Linked DNA regions of Homo sapiens: region 2 is linked to region 1. The links are contacts of gene promoters, found by promoter capture Hi-C in human tissues and cell types (Jung and others, 2019). All regions are on one chromosome and are shown on one strand. The core of a region is centred on a gene start or on the middle of the fragment in contact, and the rest is flanking DNA. Distances in the headings are between cores, read along the strand shown. Region 1 holds the start of KLHL32 (kelch like family member 32). Region 2 overlaps KLHL32 (kelch like family member 32).

What was found. The method cuts DNA at HindIII sites, captures the fragments that hold promoters and counts their contacts. A contact is called where the count stands out against the background at its distance.
Region 2: a fragment that was not itself captured here is called in contact with the fragment with the promoter of KLHL32 in region 1 in 2 of the 25 tissues and cell types used here (hippocampus and liver).

Annotation. Positions count from the first base shown.
Region 1 is chr6:96,922,075-96,927,988 of GRCh38, reverse strand. KLHL32 (kelch like family member 32) reads right to left here and starts at 3,261. Exons shown (of 11, transcript NM_052904.4): 1 at 2,963-3,261. RefSeq lists a silencer at 3,225-3,534. The HindIII fragment of the contact is 13,841 bases long and covers 1-5,914 here.
Region 2 is chr6:97,021,238-97,027,151 of GRCh38, reverse strand. The region is part of intron 3 of KLHL32 (kelch like family member 32); the gene reads right to left. Among named protein-coding and RNA genes, the nearest start is that of KLHL32, 99 kb to the right of the region's middle. The HindIII fragment of the contact is 5,153 bases long and covers 253-5,405 here.

The DNA.
Region 1 (5,914 bases), core at 2,012-4,511:
TTGGACTTCACAGTCTTAGATCCTCCATCTGTAAAATGGAAATAAGATGCCCACTTTATAGAGTCATTGTGAAGCCGATATGGAAGTAGCTTGCTCACAGAAGAGCTCGAAAAGTGGACGCTGCCAGGAGCAGTGTGTTTGCTCTGAATCATTGAGGGCAGAGACGGTATCTCCATGCACTCAGCCAGGACTTTGTTAGAACATTACTAACACACACCTGCATAGCTCCTTACTAGAGGTGCAACATATTTCCATGAAAGGAAAACTGAAATGGCTTTATTTACTGTTAAGGCATCTTTCCAGAGGGGGATTTTGGAATAAGAGAACCATGAGAAGTCGCTGTTCAAATCTTTTGGCTTTTCCTTTTAACTACACCTCTCTGGATCCACCAAAGAGACAATGTAAATAAAATGACACTCCTCTCTGACTACTTACCTACTTCAGTGAAGTCCACTAGCATCTCTGTAGCTCTAGGAGAAACACGAGAAAATGGCAGCTTCTCAAGACGTATTTACCTCACTACAAGATAGTTATTAAAGGAGTAAACATTTTGTATACCAGGGTGCTGGGATTTAATGTCTCTGAGTTCCCACTTATGTTTTCATTCCTTTGGCATCTTGCAGTATTCAGTGGTGGGTTTTACCTAATTATCTAACACTTTAATCAGACATTTTCATTAAAGGCTCAGGATGCTCCATTTGCTGACCAATCCTACGTCTTCCTATAACAAGCACTCAACTGAGTTTTTCTCCACTTCTTGGCCTTATGGCAAGAAAAAAAACATTAAGCCAGGAACATAAGTTCTAAACTATATATGCTTTTGTTTCACCAGATTCAAAAATTCCTATTTTAGAGCACTTCATGGTCTTTTATTTTCTGAGATATAAGACAGAGATCTAGAAAACCTCAAAAAATTTTTGAACCTGTTTATTGAAAAACAAAGGTAGAGCATTTATTAGACTTTAATATTGAAATAAAAAACTGATCACTCACAATGATGGATGTATTTTTTCACATCAGTATTTTGTTAGAGAATACTAACTTATAATTGAGTGAGACATCAGTAATTATGGGTTGCTAACTAGCAGGCCACAGGCTAGATATGACCCAGATACAATTTTTAATGTGGTCCTTACAGTTTTTAAAATTAAGGATACCTCATAAAAAAAATCCAGAAGCTTCTGTTTTCCTTAAAAAACTGTCATGTTTTAGAGCCTGGACAGTAACAATCGGCTACAGTGGAGTGGGAGCTGCCTCCTTTACAGTGGTTTGCAAGTTCCAGAGGCCACAGTTCACACTCCACTCCCTACCCTCTCTCCCACGTGTCTTGTCTAGGCCTGCTCCACTCCTTTATCTCACTTGTCAGATCCCTGCACACATCTGAAACGCACACACAACTTTTTTTTAAAGGCAAGGAGACTGGATCCAGAAAGGGCTTCCCCATTCACTAGCTGTGACCTTCAGCAAGGTTTGAGTCTTGGGTTCCTCAGCTTTAAATGGAAGGTAATTTATTGGCCTCAAAGGGTTGTTGTGAGGATTAAAAAAGAAGTATATGAAAAGTGCTTTCTACACTGTAATGTAAAATGTTTGTCATCATTCATCTCCCAAAGCTCTGTGAATTGCATAAATCCCCTCTATCTACCTCTGTCATTATTTGGCTTACTTGCTCCTCACATTATTTATTACACTCTCTATGACAGAGTTTAAAATCTAAATTAGAAGAATTTGACTTATTTCCTTGGGTCATTTAACAAGAAGTAGAAAAGATGAACAAATATCCAAGGAAAACAAAATTAATTCTTGAATGCCAGTGGATCTTTACTGGGCCATTTGTTTGTGATGGAGGCATGAAATTCGTGCAAAGTGTAATTACTGGATTGCTGATGCCTTCAAGTACTGTGTTACAAGTTCACCCAATAGACACCCGAGACCTCAAAATAAAACAAAACTGACAGCCCAGGTATTAGGCTGACCTGTTCCATTGGCCTATCAGTGTTCCAGTAGAGGACCCAGTCCCATCAGAAAAAAAACAAAAAGCAAAAACCACTGCACTTTCATATAAGCTCTAGTAAGCCATGGCACACATTTTATATCTATCTCTATCTGTGTATAGAGATAGATCTAAAAATAATCAATAAGAGATTTTTTAAAAAACAGAATCTTCTCAGAAATGAGCAGAGGTGCAAAAAACTGCGCTTCAATACTGATGCAGGGGATATAAAAATGCTAGCAAAGATGTATGTCATGAATGCTACCTTCTTACGTTACGAATTCACAAACGTATTCCTGTTCTGGTCAATTTACAATAGAAGCTCATTCTTGTGTGGGGAAACACAATTAAATCATCTGCTTTTAATTTAAAATAATCACGACTAAGTGAACTGCAAAATAAAACTGGAAATAGAGGGGAAGAAGGGATCTAAACTGCAGTCATCTTTCTTTATAAGATCACCAAAATGGGAGTAAATTATGATTCAAGACACAATCCGTTGAAAAATTCATCTGACGAATCCTTTTTAAAGCATACCATATAGTGCAATTACGGCTTTTCTTGAAGTTGAATGAAACCGCCACCTGAATACAGATTAACAAATGCCAAATTACGAAAGGTCCTCAGTGTATATTTTATTTTAAATATCAAAATAAATAACGGCATCATTTAAGAAACCAGTTCTTTCAATAGATGTCCCACGGCTGATGTTTAAGCAAGTCTCCTTGGCAACCAAGGAGCACAGTACATATTGGGCTCAGGGGGAGGGAAGAAAGGGGGAGCGACTCCAGGGCTGGCAGCATAAGTAACCTGAGTAGTGGCTGCTCCCGTTAGACGACACGGGCAGAGGCTGCATGGGCTGCAAGCCCCTGAAATGTCAACTCCGGGTCTGCCCCCACTTGGCGCACCAGCAGCCTCCCACCCTCTTCCTCAGGTCTGCAGAACAGGTTACAAGGAGAGAGACTGGCTTACCCGATGGGGTGAGCGGTCTGCTGGGTTAGGTGCCAGAGACGGCAGCGCAGGCACCGGCCTCTCCTTGATGCACAATGGCTCTGCTTCGCCCCACGATGCTGAGGTTAACAGAACCCGCAGTAGCTTCGCTCTGCTGGTTCGGGGATGCAGTAGCGAAGACGAGCGTCCTAGCGTGTTTGTGTGTGCGAAAGTGTGTGTGTGTGTGTGTGTGTGTGTGTGTGTGTGCCTGCGTGCGTGTGTGCGCGCGACTGCCTGCGCGCTCCCGAACTGTCGCGCGGGGAAACTGCTCCCTAGTAAATAAAAAGCCCTAGCCAGCACTGCAGGTGGCACGTCCCGCTGACTCCGCCCCAGGCGGTCGCGTCAGACTGGAGACGCACCTTGGCACCCCCGGGGCGGGTTCAGACGCCACAGGGCTCCGCCCCCTCCCGCCTCCAGCTAGCCCGCGCGCTCCCTCCCCCTCCCCCGCGATCCCGCGCACATCCTTTCGCCACCCCGCGCGCAACGCCACCGCCCGCCGCCAGCGCGCTCGCTCCCCTGCCGCCCCCCGCCCCCGCCCCCGCCGTCGGCGAGCTGCCAGCGCGCGCCCGCCGGTCCCGGAAGTACCCTCCTCCACGCCGCCCTCCTCCTCGCTCTCCGGCACCTGCGTCGCCGGCCCCTGGGTCACATGCGCAGTCTGTAGCCACCACTGCGGCGACTGAGACCCGGGAACCCAGCCTGCTCGCCCCCAGACTCCTTTCCCAGGGCTGGCGGGCAATCTGAGCAAACAGACCCCGTGGCCCTAACTCGGTGTTCCAGGGAGTCCTTGCTCTGCTAACTTGTGAAGTTCAAGTTGCCTCTAGTCCTAGCGGCCCTACAGTGGCCCTCCTTAGGATAATACACTCTATGGTACTGACCAGAACAAATTCACAGTAACTTTAAGAAACGTCAGGGGAACCAACCCGCCAGAGGTGGACGAAATCCCCAAGCCTGAGAAATGAGAAAGGGTGTGATTACTGTGGTTACTACTAATTCAGCAATAAAACCGCAAACAGACAACAACCACAGAACCATACCATTAAATTCCAGGGCCTGGCACACTCAAGTGCCACTTCCGAGTCATTCAGGTCACTCCTGTGTAAAACATGCTGAGAAACTCACACTAAAGCAAAGTGGGTAATTTTAATAGGTAAGTATTCCACCACCGAATTGAAAACCTTAGTCCAACGTGGAGGTAAGACACCAGAAGCAGGAAGAGTGTAACTAAATTGGAGTAAACTGTATTTTGTAGAAGTTCAGGATTTAACTTACTGCAAAGATAGTATGTTAATCCTATTTCTTGCAGGTTTATGTTCTGCCACAGAGTTGGGCTAGGAACAGTGCCCTGATCTATTTTGAGGTGTCCTTAATGTTCTCATTGGTCTCAAATCAGTGGTTCAGCGATTATTTTCTACTTCTAGATCCACAGGATTTGGGGGTTTATTCGTTTGCTCCCTCTGGAGGTTATCTGTCTGGCTTGTAGTGCTTCATTTTCATGGTTTTGATATCTGGACGCTAGGATGCTGGGTACCTACTTATCTAGCAGTCCTGGACACAGCATAGGACAAGGGAAAGAATGACAAACAACTGACTACAAACATTAGGTGCAGTGTCATCCTAAGAATTTTTCATAAGCAACTTGATAGTTTTCATTGCGTTGTCTTCTATCAGAAAATCGAATATGAAAGCGTCTTTGAACCAAAAATATTGACAGTGACTGGTATCAATAAATAAAACAGTCCTTTAAGATCCCCAAGGTGTTTGTCACTAAAGTGAGAATACTTAAAATTTTAAGCCCATCTATATTGATTGGATTATCTGTTTAGAATAAATAGCAGCTATTTATTTAGTATAATTAAATAGAGCAAAGACTATAATTGCATTTACACAGGAAAAGAATATTTACACCACCAACTCACCATCTGTGTGACTATGGAAGAGTCTCTTACTGCCCAAGCTGAGTGTCTCAGGGTATCTCCTGGCCCTAGCACAATGTCTGCCACATAGTATCGGCTCACTAAATATTGTTCATTGACACATGGCGTTGAGGTTTAAATGGTAAATGCCTAGTAAAATGTCTAGTTCAGAGAGGGCAAGATTTTCCTAAATGGCTCCTTAGTATTGATTTAAAGTTTATATTTTGTCTTAAGTATTTTATTTCTCTAAAATAAGAGACATTAGTTTATTCAATAGCCACCAAAATTCAACACAAACATATGTTGCAGTTTACTCCACTCCTAGAGGAGCAACTAGGTGTTAGGCACCATTTCTCTCTTAGGTACCATTATATATAGTCTTTCTCCTTATTAAGAAAATGACTTAAAATAATACTTCCCAAAAGCTGTTTTTTGGAATACTTATTATTTGTTCAGCAATTTTTTGAGCTCCTAGAATGTGTTAGGTGGTATAATCCATGTAGGTCTTTTAGTTGTCAATAAATATACATTGTTCCTGTTTCAATCTAGTGATGTTATGAGGGATGAGCTGAAGAAGATTTTTTTTTTTTAAAGTGTGAGTCTTTGGTTGCAACTGAAAACTCTCTGCCTAATTTAGGCAAGAAGGAACTTAGTAGAAGGATATCAGGAGCTCTAAGAATTGATGGGAAGCCTAGCTAGATACCCAGGATAGAAAGCCAGCAGGAGAACTCCAGAGGGCACAGAAGCAGTGACAACAGGATAATATCAGGACAGGAATGTTATGAGATGGTGTCTTCCATTGCTGAAATGGGTGAGTCCCAATTGATTGCTCTTTGTACTCCCAGTTGTAGTCTGCAGCTTCCAGTTGTTTTAGCCTGGAGCATTGGCCTGTCCCTCAGTTGTGGTAGTGTGGGACCCCTGCTCATAGCCCCACTAGATATAAAAAGAAAAGTGGACACTGGGTGGCTGGAAAATAGCATATATTCACTATAGGAAATTGGGTGCCAGGTCAAATGAGTTG
Region 2 (5,914 bases), core at 1,580-4,079, 100 kb before region 1:
CTCCCTCTGTTGCCCAGGCTGGAGTGCAGTGGCGCAATCTCGGCTCACTGCAACCTCTGCCTCCTCGGTTCAAGTGATTCTCCTGCCTCAGCCTCCCGAGTAGCTGGGACTACAGGTGCACGCCACCACGCCCAGCTGGTTTTTGTATTTTTAGTAGAGACAGGGTTTCACCACATTGGCCGGGCTGGTCTCGAATTCCTGACCTCATGATCCACCTGCCTCGGCCTCCCAAAGTGCTGGGAATACAGGTGTAAGCCACTACGCCCAGCCCTGTTATCCCTTTTCTATAGAGAATTTTTTAGAAGAATGTTGAAGATAATAGTGTGGAATTTCCTCAGTTATCACTTATTATCTTAGTCTCTTAAAACTCAATGTAAACTAATGATCGCTCTTAAAATTTTAACCCTCAATTTCAACAGTCCCTCTCTTATTTTTAATGTCCTCTCTTAATAACTTTTTCTTCAACATCTAACATAAAGGAAGGTATATGACCATAAATATAGATGCCCAGTCCAGGTGTGGACCCTCCCTTCGATCTTGCATTTTATTCATCACTTTTGTTTGACAGCTGTGAGTCAAGCAATACCCACTGGAGACCATCTCCTTTATTAGGCATGCACACAGACAGGGCAAGAGCCCAGCTAACAGACTGTTTCATTTAACCCCATTAGTTGCTAAGCAACCATTTCCCTGGCACCTTCCTAATCTAAGAACAGGTCAGCTCAATGAATATGAAGAGTTCAAGTCTTCCCAAATGTTCGAGTTAATTTTTTTTTTTTTGAGACAGGGTCTTACTTTGTCACCCAGGCTAGGGTACAGTGACATGATCATAGCTCACTGCAACCTCGAACTCCTGGGCTCAAGCAATCCTCCCATCAAGCTCACTTTTTCTGCAAACACATTTGATGCTTTGTCCATGCAGGCTAACACAAAGTCTCTACATCTTATAAAAATGGGGAAACAAAAGGGTTTAGGAATCATCCACAAGCTTTCAAACACCTTTTAAAAAATAATTAGATGGACTTCTTTTAATCCTATGAACATTTATATATATATAATGTATTTATTTCTCAAAATTTATATAATTATATTTTACATATTACCCATCTTGATCTTCATTTTCTCTTGGGTGAAATGAGCTTTGCTCCATCATTAAAAGAAAGATAAATAGTTTTTTCTTCTAGGGCCTCCCTATAGCTCTGGTGTGATAATGAGAACAATGACAATAGCAACTCATGTTTACCCAGCTTTTACCATGTGGCAGGCCCTGTGTCAGAGTCCTACTTGAATTAAAGTTTTATTTTCACAACTCTGTGAAGTCAGGTACTACTATTACCTCATTTTAAACATGAGAAAATGAGACCCAGTGAAATTAAGCAAACGGTTCAAGGCGATAAAGCTGGTAAGAGGGAGAGTCGGGACTTGAACCCATGCCTTCACCACCATTCTTCTGTGCCTACTCAGGTGCCTCCCTCTCAAGTTGGAAAGACTGCCAGATAAACTGGGAAACTGGTAGGCCCTTCAATTCAAAGAAAGACAAACAGAATCAGGCTGTGTTTAGACTTACAGACCTCCTCTCCTCCACTTCTTCAAACCACAGTTGACCTCAGAAGGATGAATATTCATTGCCTACCTGAGAAATGCATTCATATCTATTACTGGAATTTCACATGAAGTTAGCTAATTCCCATAATTGTAGCAGGATCAGAAAGCATCTAATACTTGTATTGTGATTATAAAGTGATATGAATGATTTGATATGAAAATCTCTCATTAGAGTCACAGCTCTCTGAGTGAGAAGCATACTGATAATTCAATCTTTCAGGAGTTCAGGCATGCAAGCCCAGAATGCAGTCAACATCAGATGGGCTAATGAAAAGCAACCGATTCAACAAGCAGCTGGATCATCCCACTCTATGGACAATTCGTTCCAAATCAGATTTTTACAAAGACGATAAACAGAATCATGGCATTTCTACAGATTCCAATAATTCTTTATACCAATTCATCAGGCTCACAGGATCAGATGTCTTCTCCTCTTTTGTAAAACATCTGCCTTCGCTCAACACTAATTTTTAAGAGTTTAAAAATTCCATCAGCTTTATTATCCTTTAAACATGTGGTCTTCTTTTGGATGAAGCTGAGGTTGACCGTATACCTGAGATCAAATAAGCATGAATGCAAATTTTACTTTAAATAAAACAGCATAAAAGTTATAATCTTAAAAGCATAGAAAAGATATGGCAGAAAAATAAAGTGATATTTCAATATATATTTGAAACAAATACATATAAAGGGGCTTAGCACAATGACTGTCACAGTGTAAATGATAAAAAATGTTAGCTATTATTATTACTTTAAAACTATTTTTCTAGCTTCATAATACTTACATTTACTAGATGTGAATCAGTTTAAATAAAAGAATAAAATGTAGACCAGACTTCACCATTATCCATCCATTCACTATAATGAAGACAATGAACTAATTATAAACGCGATAATGAAAATTAAATGAATGACTGAAATGTTAACAATTTCTCTGGCATTGATTCAAATAATTTTAAAGAAGAATATGATGATGGCTCTTTAGAAGGCTCTCAGCTTTCTATTTAAAAAAGAGGTAACATTTGACCAATATCACTGTTACCTGGTAACTTACCTTGAATTGACAAAAGGAAATCCATTTTTAATGAAATGTGCTCAGTTTCAAAAGGAAATTATGAAGTCATTTAATTTGAAAAAAAAAAAAAGCAACAACAAAAACCCACATACTTCTTCATGTTCACAAGGTCCTGTCCCACAGTACATCAGAATCAGCCTTATCCCACCACCATGTGCAGACTCTATTACAGCAGCTATGTGGCTGCTCATAGTCAGCCAGGCAATTAATGCTTATCGAATATCTACCAGATGTGAGGCTCTGTAACAGCCCGTTTATAAAATGCCAGGTTGACTGCTTAATTTGGCTTTGCAGAATGTCAAGGCCGCTATTAATAGTGCTACTTTTTCTGACTAAAATTAGAAGCTATTTCTTGAGTCCTCTTCCTAACAGATACTACCTAAATGATTAATCATCAGACACAAAGTGGACAATGCCAACTTCTACTCACAGACAACAGTATAATATGATTTAGGTGACAAATTAAGCACATTTTCATCTCTGGATGATTTTTTGTCAATTTCTACAGCTCCTTGGACTATATTTTTTCACACATTTTTCAAAAGTCACAATTGCTTTAGGACAAGACAAGAAGAGCCTATTGCAGCTTTTCAGGACTCTCTTCTGAACCAGATTCTAATATCTCCAGAGAGTTACAAGTTGAAGAGAAGAGAGACCACAGTTACCACATTAGGTTCCCAATTAGTTAGCCAAGGATTTTCCTGGCCCCTAGTTCTCTAGTGGCTTCAGGTGATACTATCCATGTAGAACTAGGCCAGCTGGATCTGAGAAAACAGTGAAAAGCCTGCTGGGTGACAAGTCTTTGGGACTTACAATTAAATCTCCATTTCAGCAGTATGCATCCACTAAGAATTCAAGAAATTCTACGTTAAGGAATGGGTACAATCCTTGTTGCCCTGGATTTTAAATGAATCTCAGCATCAGTAATGCCATACTGTCATGTGTAGAAAGAAAACAGAGACAGTGACCCTTGTGTTTCCCACCCCCACAGCAGCTTCTGTAAGGATAAAAACAAAAAATATATATTTAGTTTTAAAGAAAATCAGTTTTACTTGTGAAATTGAAAGAAGTTACACTGATCAGTTTTATATTTACAAGTGTATCTATAAATTCAGTTTATAGATTGTCAGCTTATAGTTTATAGATTGTCAATGCTGAAAAAATATGATCCAAAACCCCAGAGGGGAAAGATCTTTTGCTAACCAGTCCTATGCCTTCAAATGTTTTAAAAAACCTAAATTGTGGCTTTTTTGTCTTTACAATTTCTAAATTATATGTATTTAGTAATATATGAATATAGTTGATATGGTTTGGATCTCTGTCCCCACTTAAATCTCATCTCAAATTGTAATCCTCATAATCCCCACATGTCAAGGGAGAGACCTGGTGGGAGGTGATTGGATTGTGGAGACGGTTTCCCCCATGATGTTCTCATGACAGTCAGTGAGTTCTCATGATATCTGATGGTTTTATAAGTGGCAGTTTCCCCTGCTCTCTTCTCGCTCCTACCACCTTGTGAAGAAAGTGCTTGCCTCCTCTTCGCCTTATGCCATGATTGTAAGTTTCCTGAGGCCTCCCCAGCCATGTGGAACTGTAAGTCAATTAAAACTCTTTCCTTTATAAATTACCCAGTCTCAGGTATTTCTTTATAGCAGTATGAAAATGAACTAATACAAGTCTTCTTTAAAAATTAGGTGATCAGGGCTGGGCGCCATGGCTCATGCCTATAATCCCAGCACTTTGGGAGGCTGAGGCCAATGGATCACCTGAGGTCAGGAGTTCGAGACCAGCCTGGCCAACATGATGAAACCCCATCTCTACTAAAAATACAAAAATTAGCCAGGTGTGGTGGCAGGCGCCTGTAATCCCAGCTACTTGGAAAGCTGAGGCAGGAGAATCGCTTGAACCTGGGAGACGGAGATTGCAGTGAGTTGAGATCGCACCACTGCACTCCAGCCTGGGCAACAAGAGTGAAACTCCATCTCAAAAAAAAAAAAAAAATTAGGTGTTATCACAGGTAAAATTAGAGTCCTCCTTTCTGAGAAGGTAATACAGTATTTGAGCAAAGACCTGCAGAGGGCAAGGAAGGAAGTCATGTAGCTATCTAGAGGAGTAATCCAGGCAGAGGAAACAGCTGTGCAAAGATTCTCAGGTGCCTGTCTGAGGGAATAGCAAGAAGGGCAGTGTGACTGGAATGGACGGAGGTTGAGAGTTGTAGGAGGGATGACAGATGATGTAGAATCATGTACCCTTAAAGACTCTGGCTGTTATTCTGCATAAGAGTAGAAACCGTCATAGGGTTTGAGCAGAAATGACAATCCAATTTGTGTTTTCAGTGGGTTCACTGGGGCTGCAGTATTGAAACAGACTCCAAAGCATCAAGGATTGAAGAAGGAAAACAGACTAGGAGGATACTGCAAAACTCCAGGCAAAACATAATGGTAGTTTAGACCAGGGTGGTAGTACTAGAAGTGGCTGGAGTCTGGATATGTTTTGAAGGTCCAGCTATGGGGACCTGCCAGCAGTCTGGATGCAAGAAAATAGAGTCAAGGATGACACAGATAATTGCGGCCTGCATTAACTGGACAGTTGCCATTAATTGAAATTGAAAAAACTGTGCAATAAGCAGTTTTGTGGGAGAAAACTGGAAGTTTGATTTAGGACACATTGGATTTGTGATGCCTCTTAAACATCCAACTAGAGATGATAAGCAGGCTGTTGGATATATGATTTCACAATTTTAGGGGAAGTCCAATTCGGAAATATAAATTTGTCAGTCATCATCTCTGGTGGTTAATTTCATGTGCCAATTTGACTTGCCACAGGTGTTTAGATATTTGGTAAAACATTACTCTAGTATGTCTGTGAAGGTGTTTCTGGATGAAATTAACATGTTAATCAGTAGACTGAATAAAGCAGATTGTCCTCCTTAATGTAGATGGGACTCATCTAGTCAACTGAAAGCCTGAATAGAATCAAAAGACTGAAAAAGAGGGGATTCCCTCTACTGACTGTCTTCATGCTAGGACATGCCATCTTCAGGCTTGAACTGAAACATCAGCCCTTTCTGGGTCTCACGCCTGCCAGCTTTCCAACAGAAACTACATCATCGGCTCTCCTGGGTCTCAGGCTTTCAGGCTGACAGTAAAACTACACCATTGTTGAAAAACTACCTGTTGGGTACTATCCTCACTACATGGTGATGTGGTCATTCATACAGCAAACATCAGTGAC